Linked DNA regions of Homo sapiens: region 2 is linked to region 1. The links are contacts of gene promoters, found by promoter capture Hi-C in human tissues and cell types (Jung and others, 2019). All regions are on one chromosome and are shown on one strand. The core of a region is centred on a gene start or on the middle of the fragment in contact, and the rest is flanking DNA. Distances in the headings are between cores, read along the strand shown.

Evidence for each region. The method cuts DNA at HindIII sites, captures the fragments that hold promoters and counts their contacts. A contact is called where the count stands out against the background at its distance.
Region 2: a fragment that was not itself captured here is called in contact with the fragment with the promoter of WDR27 in region 1 in 1 of the 25 tissues and cell types used here (spleen).

What each region holds. Positions count from the first base shown.
Region 1 is chr6:169,699,615-169,706,886 of GRCh38, reverse strand. WDR27 (WD repeat domain 27) reads left to right here and starts at 4,858. Exons shown (of 26, transcript NM_182552.5): 1 at 4,858-5,336. It overlaps C6orf120 (chromosome 6 open reading frame 120), which reads right to left and starts at 4,761. Exons shown (of 1, transcript NM_001029863.3): 1 at 527-4,761. The coding sequence starts at 4,427. The coding sequence ends at 3,852. PHF10 (PHD finger protein 10) reads left to right here. Exons shown (of 12, transcript NM_018288.4): 10 at 1,163-1,271; 11 at 1,566-1,754; 12 at 2,799-2,985. The coding sequence ends at 2,884. RefSeq lists a silencer at 4,395-4,764 and enhancers at 4,815-4,904, 5,225-5,304. The HindIII fragment of the contact is 14,983 bases long and covers 1-7,272 here.
Region 2 is chr6:169,218,168-169,225,468 of GRCh38, reverse strand. THBS2 (thrombospondin 2) reads left to right here. Exons shown (of 22, transcript NM_003247.5): 17 at 90-324; 18 at 1,994-2,221; 19 at 3,001-3,272; 20 at 3,942-4,039; 21 at 5,132-5,271. The region is part of intron 2 of THBS2-AS1 (THBS2 antisense RNA 1); the gene reads right to left. It overlaps LOC124901470 (a long non-coding RNA gene), which reads right to left and starts at 118. Exons shown (of 2, transcript XR_007059889.1): 1 at 1-118. RefSeq lists an enhancer at 237-1,436. The HindIII fragment of the contact is 9,382 bases long and covers 116-7,301 here.

The sequences.
Region 1 (7,272 bases), core at 3,609-6,108:
TTCCTCTTTGGTTCAGTAAATTAGGAAAGGGATGCATTTGGCAGGGTGGGAATAAAGCAGAAATGAAACAATTCTACTTAAAATAATTATTTTCCCAGTTCATCTACGTGTGTGTGTGTGTGTGTGTGTGTGTGTGTGTGTGTGTGTGTGTGTGTGTGTATGTATGTATGTATGTCCCCTTACCCCATTTCATTCTTGGCCCATGCTTGCTCTTCCTTTTTTACCACTGTTATTTACTTATTTCTATAGCATGAGTGAACGTCATTTTGTAACAGTCAAGACCGTGACGTTCGGATGCCCTCCCTCCCCTGGTAATTTTAAGTGCAGTGAACCCTTTTTCCTTTGTCATTTCCATGTGTAACCAAATATGTCTAAAATTCAGACACCTTCACTGGACCATGCATGTTTTTAATCTGAAAGATCAGTAGTACTCAGAGTGTTCGTGTATTTTTTAAGTGACTGCAATTTTTTTTTGCTTGTCTGAAAACTTATTTTTCCCTTTTATAATTTTACATTTTATAGTGAATCTTTCTAAGTATAGATTCTTTTATTAGACATGCAAAGAGAATAATCACACAACTAAGTTTTCCACAAACGTTTATGTACACGCCAATGTATGCATGAGACATCTTTCAATTAAAAATGTTTAAACTGATTTTTTTTTAAATACCACTATACCAATGAGGATAAGCTGATTTTTTAACTTAGATTTTATAGCTCTAGTTTTGCAGTTTTGGAAAATAGCAGGTTTTAAACAAAATTAATATATGAGCTATTTAAAATGGTCTTTTTAGAGTAAGTCTTACACATAATGGTCATTTGCTACTTGGATTTTCTTGTCCAATTAATAGTGACATTTGACATTGTATTTAGTCTTTCCTTCCATTCATTAAACAAATCTTACTGTGCATGTAGGGAGTATAGAATGCTACATTTAATCTTACGAGATCATGCTGTTTACCAAATTTTATGATGAAATTAATGCTTTCTTCAGTAGGCAGTCTTACATTGTAGGCAGACTCCTGTCAAGTTTTGTCTTTCAAAATGGTCCTCATTAGCAAGTTACCAAAAGTAAAAATAGGGCAATAAAGTAACAGAATTCCTTTTAAACCCATAGTAAGCTCTTCTGGCATGAATTTATAGCCCTCTTCTACCCTTCCAGCCAAAGGTCATTCCAAATGCTATATGTGGAATTTGTCTGAAGGGTAAGGAGTCCAACAAGAAAGGAAAGGCTGAATCACTTATACACTGCTCCCAATGTGAGAATAGTGGTAAGTATTGAAATGTCTTTTTAAAATTTTAACCACCGTATTTATTGGTTCAAAAACTAGAATTTATAGTTTCAGGCAGATTTCAACCAAAGAGTCACCAAATTAAATACACAGGGTAGCTTGTGAGGCATAGACACAGCCCATGTGTTTTCCTCTACATTGTATATTCATTTCTCTTTGGCGATTTGACATTATAGCCATTCTCTGGAAGTCCTAAAGCAAACTAGTATTTTATGTGCCATATTAAGTTAAAATTTCTTATGTGAGATACCACTAATACTGGTTTTGATTTAGGCCATCCTTCTTGCCTGGATATGACAATGGAGCTTGTTTCTATGATTAAGACCTACCCATGGCAGTGTATGGAATGTAAAACATGCATTATATGTGGACAACCCCACCATGAAGAAGAAATGATGTTCTGTGATATGTGTGACAGAGGTTATCATACTTTTTGTGTGGGCCTTGGTGCTATTCCATCAGGTAAAGATTAAAAAAAGAGCAAACATTATCTTTGGGTGATGAGACTCTCCCAGCACTCCAAAAGGCTGCATAAACGCTATCATGACATGAAGAGCTTGTGGACTCTTATGTGCAAATATGACCAAAGCTGTGATTATACAGGTCATGTCCACCAGCTTTTCATCCCTAGACAATTCCAACTAAAGGATAAGTGAAAGGCCAGAATGCCCCTGCTAAGTTTTGGAAGTATAGTTCTATAGAATGAGCTGGTGTTTTTCTACTGAAATACTAAAGTAACAAAGCCTTTATTTTTATATGTTATCTATTTAGAAACAACAAAATGACTGCTACGTCTTTATACATTTCTATAGAAATCTATTATAGATTTCTGTAAATTGAGGCAGCATGACAATTCCAGATAACTTTAGAACAGAGTTGAATAAATCACAGTAATTGGACTAAAACATTACACAGATAATTGTGTAATTTTAGAACTTACTTGCATAGTTAACACTGTATAATACTCTTATAAAATATATGCCTACAACGAAGTTTCCTGGGAATCATTAAGCAAGCAACATAATTATTTTTCTGTAGTAATTCAGATCAAGTATGTAGTACAAGTTATCATTGTGCTGTTAAAGTTTTAAAGTGCTGTCAGCAGAGTACACCAGGACTTGAAAGAATGCTGTTAAGACACACAGCTGCCAGTGAGCAGGAGAGAAAAAGTCTTAAAAAAGCCAAATTCCGGAATGGGTTTTGACCTTTTGAAGTATGATAGTGTTTGAATTTCAGGAAAGATTGTACTTTCTTAAAGGTCCGTATCACCGTATGGCATTGCATCTCTCCCATCCCCCTTGACTTGCAATGAATTTTGCATGGCATTGATTACATTGATTAAGTTTACATTTTTTCCTTAAATTAAGGAACTCATAGTGCCCTTCTCACCACAAAATCCAGAGAGGAATATCATTAGTGATAGCTAAGGCAGAAGAGTTTAGATGGGCTTAAAATTCAGTCCTGTAAAGATAATTTTTCATTCTATATTAACAATTTTTTTCCTAGGTCGCTGGATTTGTGACTGTTGTCAGCGGGCCCCCCCAACACCCAGGAAAGTGGGCAGAAGGGGGAAAAACAGCAAAGAGGGATAAAATAGTTTTTGACTCTAATACTGTATATGCATTTAAGTGGAATATTTGGTGCCATTTACAACATTATTTTCATGCCAATAAAAGATTTTTTTTGCAAATTATGAGCTTAAAATCTGCAGTTATTTCTGTTAAAAGCTACGCTTACTCTCGAAACTAACTCCAGGTAGAGAATTCATCTTCCAAAGTATTTTATAGTAACCTTGGCTCACTCCAAAAATTCAGTGGAAATGTTTAGTAACTTAAGATACTTAACTGTTTCTCCATAGCCCCAAAAGTTAATTTTCATGAAACTTCCTAATCTACATTGTTTCCGGCCTACCATAGGTAGCACTGACAAAGTTATTTAATAACTGAAGAATTTTCATAGGTATGACAAATGGCCCACTAAGATTTGGTGCAGCTGGATTTAGAGTTGTCATTATTGGACTGGTACAGGAACAAACTTTGTAAATACCTGCCTGCCAGGAAATCCTTTTTGTATAGAAAAGTACCATCACCTACTTGGGGTACAGGCATGAGGCTTTAGTCCAGGCTCAGGGAAGTGTACGTAAATCATTTCCAACTTGATTTTAGTAACTCTTGAAAACTTACACCAACTTCGGTTAGAATCTCCAGAGTAAAATTACAAAGTTATCAACCTTTTGATTTGTGTCACAGCATGAAAGGTTGCTCTATTTTATATAAACCTGTTACTGCAATCATTTTTAGTCAACCTGCCTAATGAAAATGGAGTCTAAACACTTTGTGCACAGTCCTTTTATAGGAATTATGATCTTTAAAATACTGTGCTTGCTGCTTTTCCTATTTTTGGGGTAACTGAGGTAACAAAACTGCGTATGGCTTTATTTTTCCATCCCTTGACTAAAGGTACCTAGAACTTCAACCAAGTACAAGTAGCAAGGTTCACAGCAAACTGCAATCAGCTTCACAGATGGAGGGTTTTATATCCCAGAGTGTGGTCAACGACTCAAAAGAGAATTTCAAGTACCAGTTTCAAAATGCTAATTAATATCGTCCAGAGAACAGATTCCTCCTCTTGCGAGGCGTCTTCCGGGGCACCAGCGTGCTTCTGGCCGGCATCTGCGCCGTCGGCGGGGTAGGCGGCCTCGCCGAACGGGTGCTGCTCGACCGTGCCGTCGTAGTACACCTTCATCTCGAACTCGCTCTCCAGGTGGGAGGGGTGTCCATAGACGCCGATGCCCACTGGGCGCCGGAAGTGCGCGGGGATGGACACGGCGTCCGGGCCGCAGGTGGCCGATTGCAGCTCGTAGTCGTCGAAGCTGGGGTGCAGGCTGCTGGCGGAGACGTACAGATCCGCATCTCCCTTGAGGCTGCGCATCCTGAGGACTATCTTGCCCTCGTGGTTCAGCCGCAGGTAGCTGTAGTTCCCGGCGCCTATCTGGCCCTGGACGACGTGCAGGAGCACCCACTCCTCGGGGACCTCCTCCTCGTCCGCGCAGCTTCCCGGAGACAGGACCTGCGAGGCTAGGAGCAGCAGCAGGGCCGTCGTCCAGGGCGCGGCCCTCCCGCGGGGAGCGGCCATGGCTGGCGGCTCAGCTCCGGGGCCTGCAAGTGGGTCAGTGCTGCTGGGGACACCGGAGGCGCTCAGCACCGGAGCCTGTCCCCGCCGTCCGCACGCGGGTCCACGGCGCGTCCAGGCGCCTGGTCTGTCGCTGGGACTGTCCCTTCCCACCCGCGTGAGGCCCCGGGGAGGAGGGGTGGGTTAACCCCTCCCCCGTAGCGCGGCGCCCACTCAGGGCAGGGGCAGGGGCAGGGGCAGGGCCGCTGTGGCACCCTCGGACTCACCACCACTCCCCGCAGGGGGCCGCGCTTTATACATCCGGACCCGAGGCCGGAGCCTCGCCGGAGGCGGAAGTGACGCTAGGTCCGTAAGTGAGCCGGCCGGAAGCGAGGCTTCTCCAGCTGTCGCGAGATAGCGAAAGGGGCGTGGGCGCGAGGGGCGGCGGGCTAGTAACCATAGCGGCTCGCGTGGGTCGGCTGGCAAGTAACCATAGCGGCGAGCGTGGGGCGGAGTGTGGCTCGGTAGTCCTCTGCGTGCCCTCCTGGGAGCTGGGTGCTGTGAGTCCTCCCCTAGCGGGCTGGTCTCGGCGCGGAGTCGGCGCCGAACCCGAGCTGCTGCTCTGGGGCGTGTGCCTAGGGCGCAGGGCTGGAGCGCGGGGGCTGCGCGGTTGCTCGCGGCTCCGCTGAGGTCTCTAGGAAAGGGGGCGATTTGAGGGTTCCGCCGTGACCGCTTCCAACGGCGGACACGCGCGCTCTGGACCAGAGCCGTTGCCCGCTGTCTCGTCACCCGAAGCCTCCTCCTGACGCCGTGCTAGTGCGAGGGTCTCCAGGGGAATTCGGGGCACAAGTCGGGCCGGAGCATCCGGGCGGCCGCTTGAGATCGGCGCTTTGAGAACTGAGCGCATGTGGAGTTCGGAGGAAAAGGGCTCAGGTGGTTATTTTAATTAAAGCAGCTGTGTATAAGGAGCACTCAGATCTCTTTAAAAGATTCAGTAGTTTAGGAACGAACCAGGGCTGTAGAAATGCCCGGCCTCCTGCACCTCCCGTCGGTTCTGAGCTCCGAGGGCGGGAGCGTGGACCCTGAGGGCTCGTTAATTATGCCCCACTGGCCTTTCAACCTGCGTGGTAACTACCAGGCTAGGTTTTCCTAACTCGAGCCAAACAGCAAGTTTCTGACTTGATTATCACTAAAAGAGAAAAATTTCGATCTTTTCTAATCAGAAGGGAGTAATTTTCTCTTTTTAAAAATATTCGTATGTACATTAAAAAAACGGAAATGCACAGGATTTTATCAGTGGTACTCCTCGAGTAGTAGAGTTTTCATCTTTTTATGTATTTCTAAATTTTCTACAATTTACACACACTGCTCTGTACCAGTAAAGGAGTATTAACTCTACAGCTTCCAGTTTATCTGGGATTACTATCTTGTGTTTACTGACTTAACTTTAAGACTATGGTATCTTTAGCAATCACTTGTCACTGCCTTTTCCTGAAGTGCTTACCTAGTGTTAGGTGCACTAGAATCTCACTAAAATAATAAATTTAGTTTATTTTCCCTGACTTGTTCTGTGCATGTATGTACATGGATATTCCTGGGGATATCCTGTGACATTGATTATCCCCTAGGGTTGGCACAGCAGGGAGAGGAGGTAGGGATAAAAAACTTTATTATTTCTGCATTGTTTAAATGTTTTGTATTGTATTGCTTTTGTAATTCAAAAAAATGTTAAACAATTTATATTAGTGGAGGTAGGTTAAGTGCTGTAGCAATTCACCCCAATAGAACAGTTGCATGTTTCTTGCTCACACAGTCCTGTGTAGCGGTTTCTAGTCAGACGATTCCTTTGGGCAGCTCTCTGCAAGCTGCAGCCTAAAATTCTTCCATGTTGTGGTTTTTTTCCTTAGGCCCTCTGAATTCTCCGCATTTAGCCAGTGGGTGGGGAAAGAAGAGAGGCAGTGCAGGAGGAATTTATGGGCCAGGCACTCAACGACTACATGGCTGCACTTAATTGCAAGGGAAGCTAGGGAGTGTAGTTTAGTTCTGTGTCTAGAAGGAAAGGGAAGTGGCTTAGTGGAAAAGGAACAGCACTTACCGTAGTCTCTCTTCTGGTGACCAGATCTCTGCTCCACTCTTGATCCCACATGGAGAACACACTCTCCCCACCCCAAGGGGGACACTTTGTCAAGGTGCCTAGTGCAACACAGAACATTTCTCAGGATTGCACAGTTCTCTCCATCAGGCCTGGCTGTGGTTCCTCGTGGTCCAGAGCCCTATGGACTAAGAAGACAAACTAGTTGCTCTCCCCACTAAAATGCAGTGGTTAAATATGACCATGGTTTTTGTAACCATCTCCCTTTTGGAAAAGGGAGACACATGGCAGACACTGGTCTATAGCAGTTTTGAAGTGATGCTGGGGTGGAGGTGGGAGGAATTTCCCAACTAGACCCTGATTCTGCTATCTGGGAGGAATTCCCTTGTCCATTGTTCTTTTTCTTTCCTTTGAGACAGGATGTCACTGTTGTCCAGGTTGAAGTAGAGTGGCACAATCACAGCTCACTATAGCTTCAACCTCCGTGGCTCAAACGATCCTCCCACCTCAGCCTCCCCAGCAGCTGGGGCTACAAGCATGCACTGCCACACCTGACTACTTTTTTTTTTTAAAGTAGAGACAGGGTCTCACTATGTTGCCCAGGCTGGTCTTGAACTCCTGGGCTCAAGTGATCCTTCTGCCTCGGCCCCACAAAGTGCTGGGATTGCAGATGTGAGCCACTGTGCCTGGCTTGTTTGCTGAGGCCCTTGATTCTACCCTTAGTCCTTTTCCTCCACGGTCTCATCTGATGTGGCTATGAGGATGCTGTCTTGGAAG
Region 2 (7,301 bases), core at 3,557-6,056, 480 kb after region 1:
GCCGGCTCTCAGGCTTGCGTCCTGCTGGTTCCTCTCCACCTCCTCAAACTGGCAGTCCTCTGCTGTTTCTCTCACGCCCCATCCCCTAGACCGACGTGGACAATGACCTTGTTGGGGACCAGTGTGACAACAACGAGGACATAGATGACGACGGCCACCAGAACAACCAGGACAACTGCCCCTACATCTCCAACGCCAACCAGGCTGACCATGACAGAGACGGCCAGGGCGACGCCTGTGACCCTGATGATGACAACGATGGCGTCCCCGATGACAGGGACAACTGCCGGCTTGTGTTCAACCCAGACCAGGAGGACTTGGACGGTGGGTGCTCTCTCAGCTCATGGGCGTGGAGGAAAATGGCTTCTGAGCAACCCGCCAGGGCAGAGATATGTATGCACGGAGATCATCTTAAATCTGCTGCTGGAAAAAGGGCAATGACTTTGGGCCTCTTAAAGCTGTGGGTCCATGCAATATGAGTTTCTTCTCCCCTGACACTCAACACATTCTTGGCTGTGTGTGTGCCCTTCAACAGGTGTGCTGCCTCAAGTGTGTGTGCACGTCGGGAGGAGGAGAAATCCCTGCCTCCATATAACTTCCAGATTGTTGACGATCTCCTAGAAAGAATGCGGGTTACGAACGTAGGATGAATTGGGAATTTGGTGTATGGGGCCAGGCAGGGGACAAGGAGGATTTTTTTGAAAGCAAAGCCAACAAAAGTGGCACGAGTGTGAAGCATGAGAGGAAGAGCTGCTTTGCTCAGCAGTGAGCATGAATAGGTGGCCCATAGCCACGGGGGCCCAAGGAAGGAGCTGGATGGGCTGCAGTCCTCTAAGTCAGCGTCCCTGAGTAATAAACAAGGGCACAGCTGTGCTCTGGGGCTTCCGGGGAGGCTGTGAGAAAGTGGCCCTCACTTGGAGTGGGGCCTGGCTGACACAGGCTCTCTTTGGAAGCCACGTCCTTGACAGAGGGAGATAAGGACTTGAGGGGCATCTGAGACAGCATGACTCAGAAGTACGTGGGAGATGCTGGGATCAGAAGGGCAGCTCCTGTGTTCTCCCCGAGCAGCATGAAGGGATGGAGTGAGCACAGCAAGCCTCATCTGGACTCCGTGTTCGGGCATGCAGGGGCTTGCTCCCCATGCAGCCTTTCCCCAGGGAGGGACTGGGACAGAGAGAAGCTGATAGGCAGAGCAGCATTTCAGCATTTCAGAATGCCCTGATACCAACTATGTGCCTGCCACGTGGTAGCTGGAGTATGTTCTTGAACAGAACGGAAACTAGTTGAAGAATATGATGAGATATTCAATCCAACTTGCCTTTCCTCCAAAACGGCAGGCCACGTGATAGCTAATTCAGTACATTGCAATCTGCCTGTCAGGTTATCGTCATCGCCGTAGACTGATAGACTGGACACATGTGGCAAATTCGTGGTCCCCCTGTTTGCACCAGGCCCACCTCATCCCCACTCCCCACCATGCCACAACCCCGCTGAAAACTTGACAAGGACCCACTAAACAGCGGAAGTCCATGTCTCCCTAGGAAAAACCATTTTAGTGTGAGTTCCGCTTTAATGCCAAATAGACTATAAAAGGCAAGGATGACTAAGAAAAGTAATAACAGACATTCAGAAAACTATCCAAACACAAAGCTGGAAATGCAGGTTGATATTACTTGACAGCCATTCAGGTTTTATACCTGCAGCATTGAGTTTGGAACACGGTGAGAAATGGCTTTATGTGAATTTGCTGTGCTGGCCTTTGCTGTGTATTTATCACAAAAATTTTGTGAAAAGAGTTGAGGTTCCTGTGAAGTCAAATGTTTTGGAGATTGTTGAGCACGAATCCACAAAACACTGCAAAGCACTCAGTCTTAGATGTTCTGGGAAAGATGCACTCATGTTTCTCAGACACGGAAAAGCAAATGGCAAACCACCGACCACCGACTTTGCTTCTTTGTTTTTGTTTTTGTTTTTGCTTGTTCTTTGTGCATAGGTGATGGACGGGGTGATATTTGTAAAGATGATTTTGACAATGACAACATCCCAGATATTGATGATGTGTGTCCTGAAAACAATGCCATCAGTGAGACAGACTTCAGGAACTTCCAGATGGTCCCCTTGGATCCCAAAGGGACCACCCAAATTGATCCCAACTGGGTCATTCGCCATCAAGGCAAGGAGCTGGTTCAGACAGCCAACTCGGACCCCGGCATCGCTGTAGGTGAGTCTCTGAGACACGGCGGTGGTGCCAGCATTTCTCCGGGGGAGGCGCCCACAGAAGATGCAGACTGCACTTTAAGATCATGCAGGTGGGATGCCATGTGGTCTTTCTGGAAGCCCCCATCCTTCCATGGTCTGTGAAACTGTCTGCCTAAATAACCTTGACAGGTACATGCACCTGCCGCTCTGAAGTCTCTGAAATTTCAGTAAACCATTTTATTTTATAGACTTGGTCTATGAAATGGGACCTCATAATCCTCTCAGAACTCTTGTAAGTTGGATCTAAAAGAAATACCTTCAATTCCACTAATCTCATGGTAAAAGAGCCCATCGGGATGATGAGGGGAGCCCGCCCTGCCTGCTGGGCATCCACTGTCAGATGGTCACAGGGCCAAGCTGGGGATTGCCTGAAACCTGTTTCTTTTTTTTTTCTTTTTTTTCTTTTTTTTTTTTTGAGATGGAGTCTTGCTCTTGTCCCCCAGGCTGGAGTATAGTGGTACAATCTCAGTTCACTGCAACCTTTTTTCCCCGGTTCAAGTGATTCTCCTGCCTCAGCCTCCTGAGTAGCTGGGATTACAGGTACCCACCACCATGCCCGGCTAATTTTTGCATTTTTAGTAGAGACAAGGTTTCACCATATTGGTCAGACCAGTCTCGAACTCTTGACCTCAGGTGATCTGCCCACCTCGGCCTCTCAAAGTGCTGGGATTACAGGCATGAGTCACTACTCCCGGCCACCTGAAAGGTGTTTCTAACGAAACCTTATGGCGTTGCATCCAGGTTTTGACGAGTTTGGGTCTGTGGACTTCAGTGGCACATTCTACGTAAACACTGACCGGGACGACGACTATGCCGGCTTCGTCTTTGGTTACCAGTCAAGCAGCCGCTTCTATGTGGTGATGTGGAAGCAGGTGACGCAGACCTACTGGGAGGACCAGCCCACGCGGGCCTATGGCTACTCCGGCGTGTCCCTCAAGGTGGTGAACTCCACCACGGGGACGGGCGAGCACCTGAGGAACGCGCTGTGGCACACGGGGAACACGCCGGGGCAGGTGAGGTTGGCTGGCCAGGCCCACACATCTCCTCTGCACCACTGTGGCTGCAGAGTGTTTCAGCAGGACTAGCCCAGTCCAGAGACCCCACTTTTGTCTTTATTAATTTTAACTCCAGGCACAGTTATTTTAATAATCTTACTTTATTATAGACACTGTGCCTGGGGTTACAACTCAACACAGTTGATAATTACCAGTTAAATACAGTTGCTAATCCTTTTACAAATTAAACCTCTTTTACCCTCTTCTGGAGATAGGGAGTGAGCATAGGACATAATGATCAAAGATATAATATGAAAAAAATATTTTAAAAATTGAAGCTAGGGAGAATTGAATATCAAAACTTCAAGAATTTTGCCCAACATCCCATATCAAGGAAAGAGAAGATCCAGACATGAACCCAGGAATCTGAGGATCAGGTGCCTGGGCTCTTCAATCCAGGAATCTGAGGGTCAGGTGCCTTGGCTCTCAGCCCTGAGCCACACTCTGTCCATGGGCTTCAATCCACAGTAGAGATTTGGATGATAAACACATCAGAGAGATATGGAGCACCATGAGCCTTAAGCATGAACTTGCAAAGTCATGTTTTTGCTTCCTGCTTGGTGTTACAGAGCTGTGGTTAAGGCTCCGGGTGCCCATGGCACTCAAGAGTGCTATGTTCTCTCTCAGGTGCGAACCTTATGGCACGACCCCAGGAACATTGGCTGGAAGGACTACACGGCCTATAGGTGGCACCTGACTCACAGGCCCAAGACTGGCTACATCAGGTGAGGGCAGGTCAGCACAGCTGCATTTCTTCCAAGGGGCTTCCCATCGGACGGCACATTTGAACATTAATAGACAAATAAGCTCAAGTGAATTCTAACTTTTTGTTTTACTCTGGATTCTTCGTCATTAACTGCTTTCTCTTTTCTATCCTGCATCTCTACTAAATATTAAGTATTTTTAAAAAATGGTTGAAAAGGAGAATATACAATCTGCTTTGTTTTGGGATGATAACCATATTTTCTCCTAATGAATACCCCAGGCAGGGGAGAACACCTGCAATTAAAATAACTGCATCTTTGCAGAATTAGCATGTGCTTTATTGGAGACTAGATTTGTACCTGATATAAATGGCTGAATTTAAAACACGGTTGTATGAAGTTTTGACACAGTTAGCCCAACAGAATCTTTTCCCTTGGCTTAACAGTATTTATAATTGATTTTTATTCAAACAAAATGTGGTCAATTTAAAATCAAGGTGTTTTTGTTTTTTCAAAGTTAATAAGCACCAAGATCAGGCTGGACTCTGCACAGATGCCAGGAGTGTGTGAGTCCCTGGCAATAGAGGGCAGATCTGTGTGGGTGAAGTGCAGGCTCGTGGCCTCGCTGGAACGTTTCCCTAGGGGGCCTCCTGTTTATTCATATTGATGCCCCATCCTCCTGTCGGGGGCTTGGTGTATCCAGTCCTGCTCCCACGCAGCTTCCACAGTGGGGAGGAGAGCCGGTGAGCTCATGGTTTTAGCACAAGGTGAAGTAGGGAGAGTCCGGTGCATCTTCCCAGGAAGTGGGAAGCTTCCTCCTCACCCCACCAAAGGTAGAGTCTCCTCTAAAGCCCTTGCCTGGGTGACTGTAAGTGAACTCACAGATTGTGACAATAGTGTGGTTGCAAGAAGGAAGGCGTGCCCTGGATCAGTGCTGCACCAGGGGTGGCTGGAGCTCCAAAGGAGAAAGCCAGCAATGCCCCCTGGGGCACTGAAGCCCTGGGCGGAGTATCCACAGCTTGTGTCCGGAGCCAACCTTCCATCACTGGTGAATGCTTCACAGAGTTCATGTTGTCTTTCTTTCCTCTTCTTCTTTTTAAACACCATTTTTAGAGTCTTAGTGCATGAAGGAAAACAGGTCATGGCAGACTCAGGACCTATCTATGACCAAACCTACGCTGGCGGGCGGCTGGGTCTATTTGTCTTCTCTCAAGAAATGGTCTATTTCTCAGACCTCAAGTACGAATGCAGAGGTGAGTGTGAGCACTTCAGGTTAGTGGGGAAGGCATGTGGCACCCAGAAAGGGAAAGGGGTACACAGTGCGCTCTTCCACTTACAAAAGCTGTACATCAGGGCAATAAACCTAATGCACAATACCACACATGAGCCCCCTGCACATTCCAAGCAGCCATTTCATTTGGTCAGCTTGGATTGTTTTGTTTTTAATTGCATTTGGATGCCTCTGGTAGAACACTTTCCAATTATTTACAGGTCCCACCCATCCTCATTGTGCCATAGCCTAGAGTTTCCTAGATTTCCTCCACTTCCAGGCTCCTGACGCCATTTTAGATTGGTACCCTTGCATTAGCAATGGCAGGCAGGCAGGAAGGAAAGAAGGAAGGAAGGAGTTTCTCTATAGTTATCTCGCTACAGGTATATTTGAATCAAAATATTATAGACCTGGAAGATAACTTGAATTCCATCTGCTCTAATTCCATGCCTTCAAATGCGCATTACCCTTCCACAGATGCAGTAAATAAGGCTCAGGATGCTTCTCAAGAATCACACATTGAAAATCATGTGTTTGGCTGGGGGCAGTGGCTCATGCCTGTAATCCTAGCCCTTTGGGAGGCCAAGGCGGGTGGATCCCCTGAGGTCAGGAGTTCGAGACCAGCCTGGCCAACAGGGCAAAACCCTGTTGGGGTTGATTTATCTGCTTGCTTCTGTGGAGGTTTTCTTCTCCTTATGTTAGGATGTCTTTCAAGGCATCTCATTTCCTCCCATCCATCCATATCATTCATCCACCCACCCATATATCTCATCCATCCACCCATCCATCCATCCATTCATCCACCCATCTCATCCATTCACCCAACCATCCATCCATCCACCCACCCACACACCCACCCATCTCATCCATCCAACCACCCATCCACCCAACTATCTCATCCATCCATCCATCCACCCACCCATCCACCTATCCATCTAATCCATCCACCCACCCACCCACTCATCCATTTCATCCATCCATCCACCCACACATCCACCCAACCATTTCATTCACCCCCACTCACTCATCTATCCCATCCATCCATTCATCTCATCCACTCACCTACCTACTCATCCATCCATCCATCCACCTATCAATACATCCATCTCATCCATCCATCCATCCATCTCATCCACCCACCTACTCATCCATCCATCCACTCATCTCATCCACCCACCTACTCATCCATCCATCCACTCATCCACCCACCTACTCATCCATCCATCCACTCATCTCATCCACCCACCTACTCATCCATCCATCCACTCATCTCATCCACTTACCCACCCACTCATCATCCATCCATCCACCCAGCACTTATCCATCCATCTTATCCATCCATCCATCCATCTCAGCCACCCACCCATGCACTCATCCATCTCATCCACCAACCCACTCATCCCTCCATCCACCCACCCACCCATCCATCCATCTCATCCACCCACCTATCTCATCCATCCATCCACCTGTCTCATCCATCCATCCATCCCATCCATCCATCTACTCATCCGCCCATCCATCTCATCCATTCACCCAACCATCCATCTCATCCATCCATCCATTCATCCATCCACCCACCCACACACCCACCCATCTCATCCATCCATCCACCCAGCCCCATCCACCTATCCATCTAGTCCATCCACCCACCCACCCATCCATCTCATCCATCCATCCATCCACCCATCCATTTCATCCACCCCCACTCATCTATCCCATCCATCCATCTCAGCCACCCACCCACCCACTCATCCATCTCATCCATCCACCCACCCATCCATCTCCACCAACCCACCTATCTCATTCATCCATCCATCCATCAATTCATCTCATCCACCCATTCATCTCATCTACCAACCCACTCATCCATCCATCCACCCACCCATTTCATCCATCCACCAATCCATTTCATCCATCCATCCACCCATCCATCCATCTCATCCAGCCACCCAACCATCTCATCATCCATCCACCCATTCATCTCATCCACCAACCCACTCATCCATCCATCCA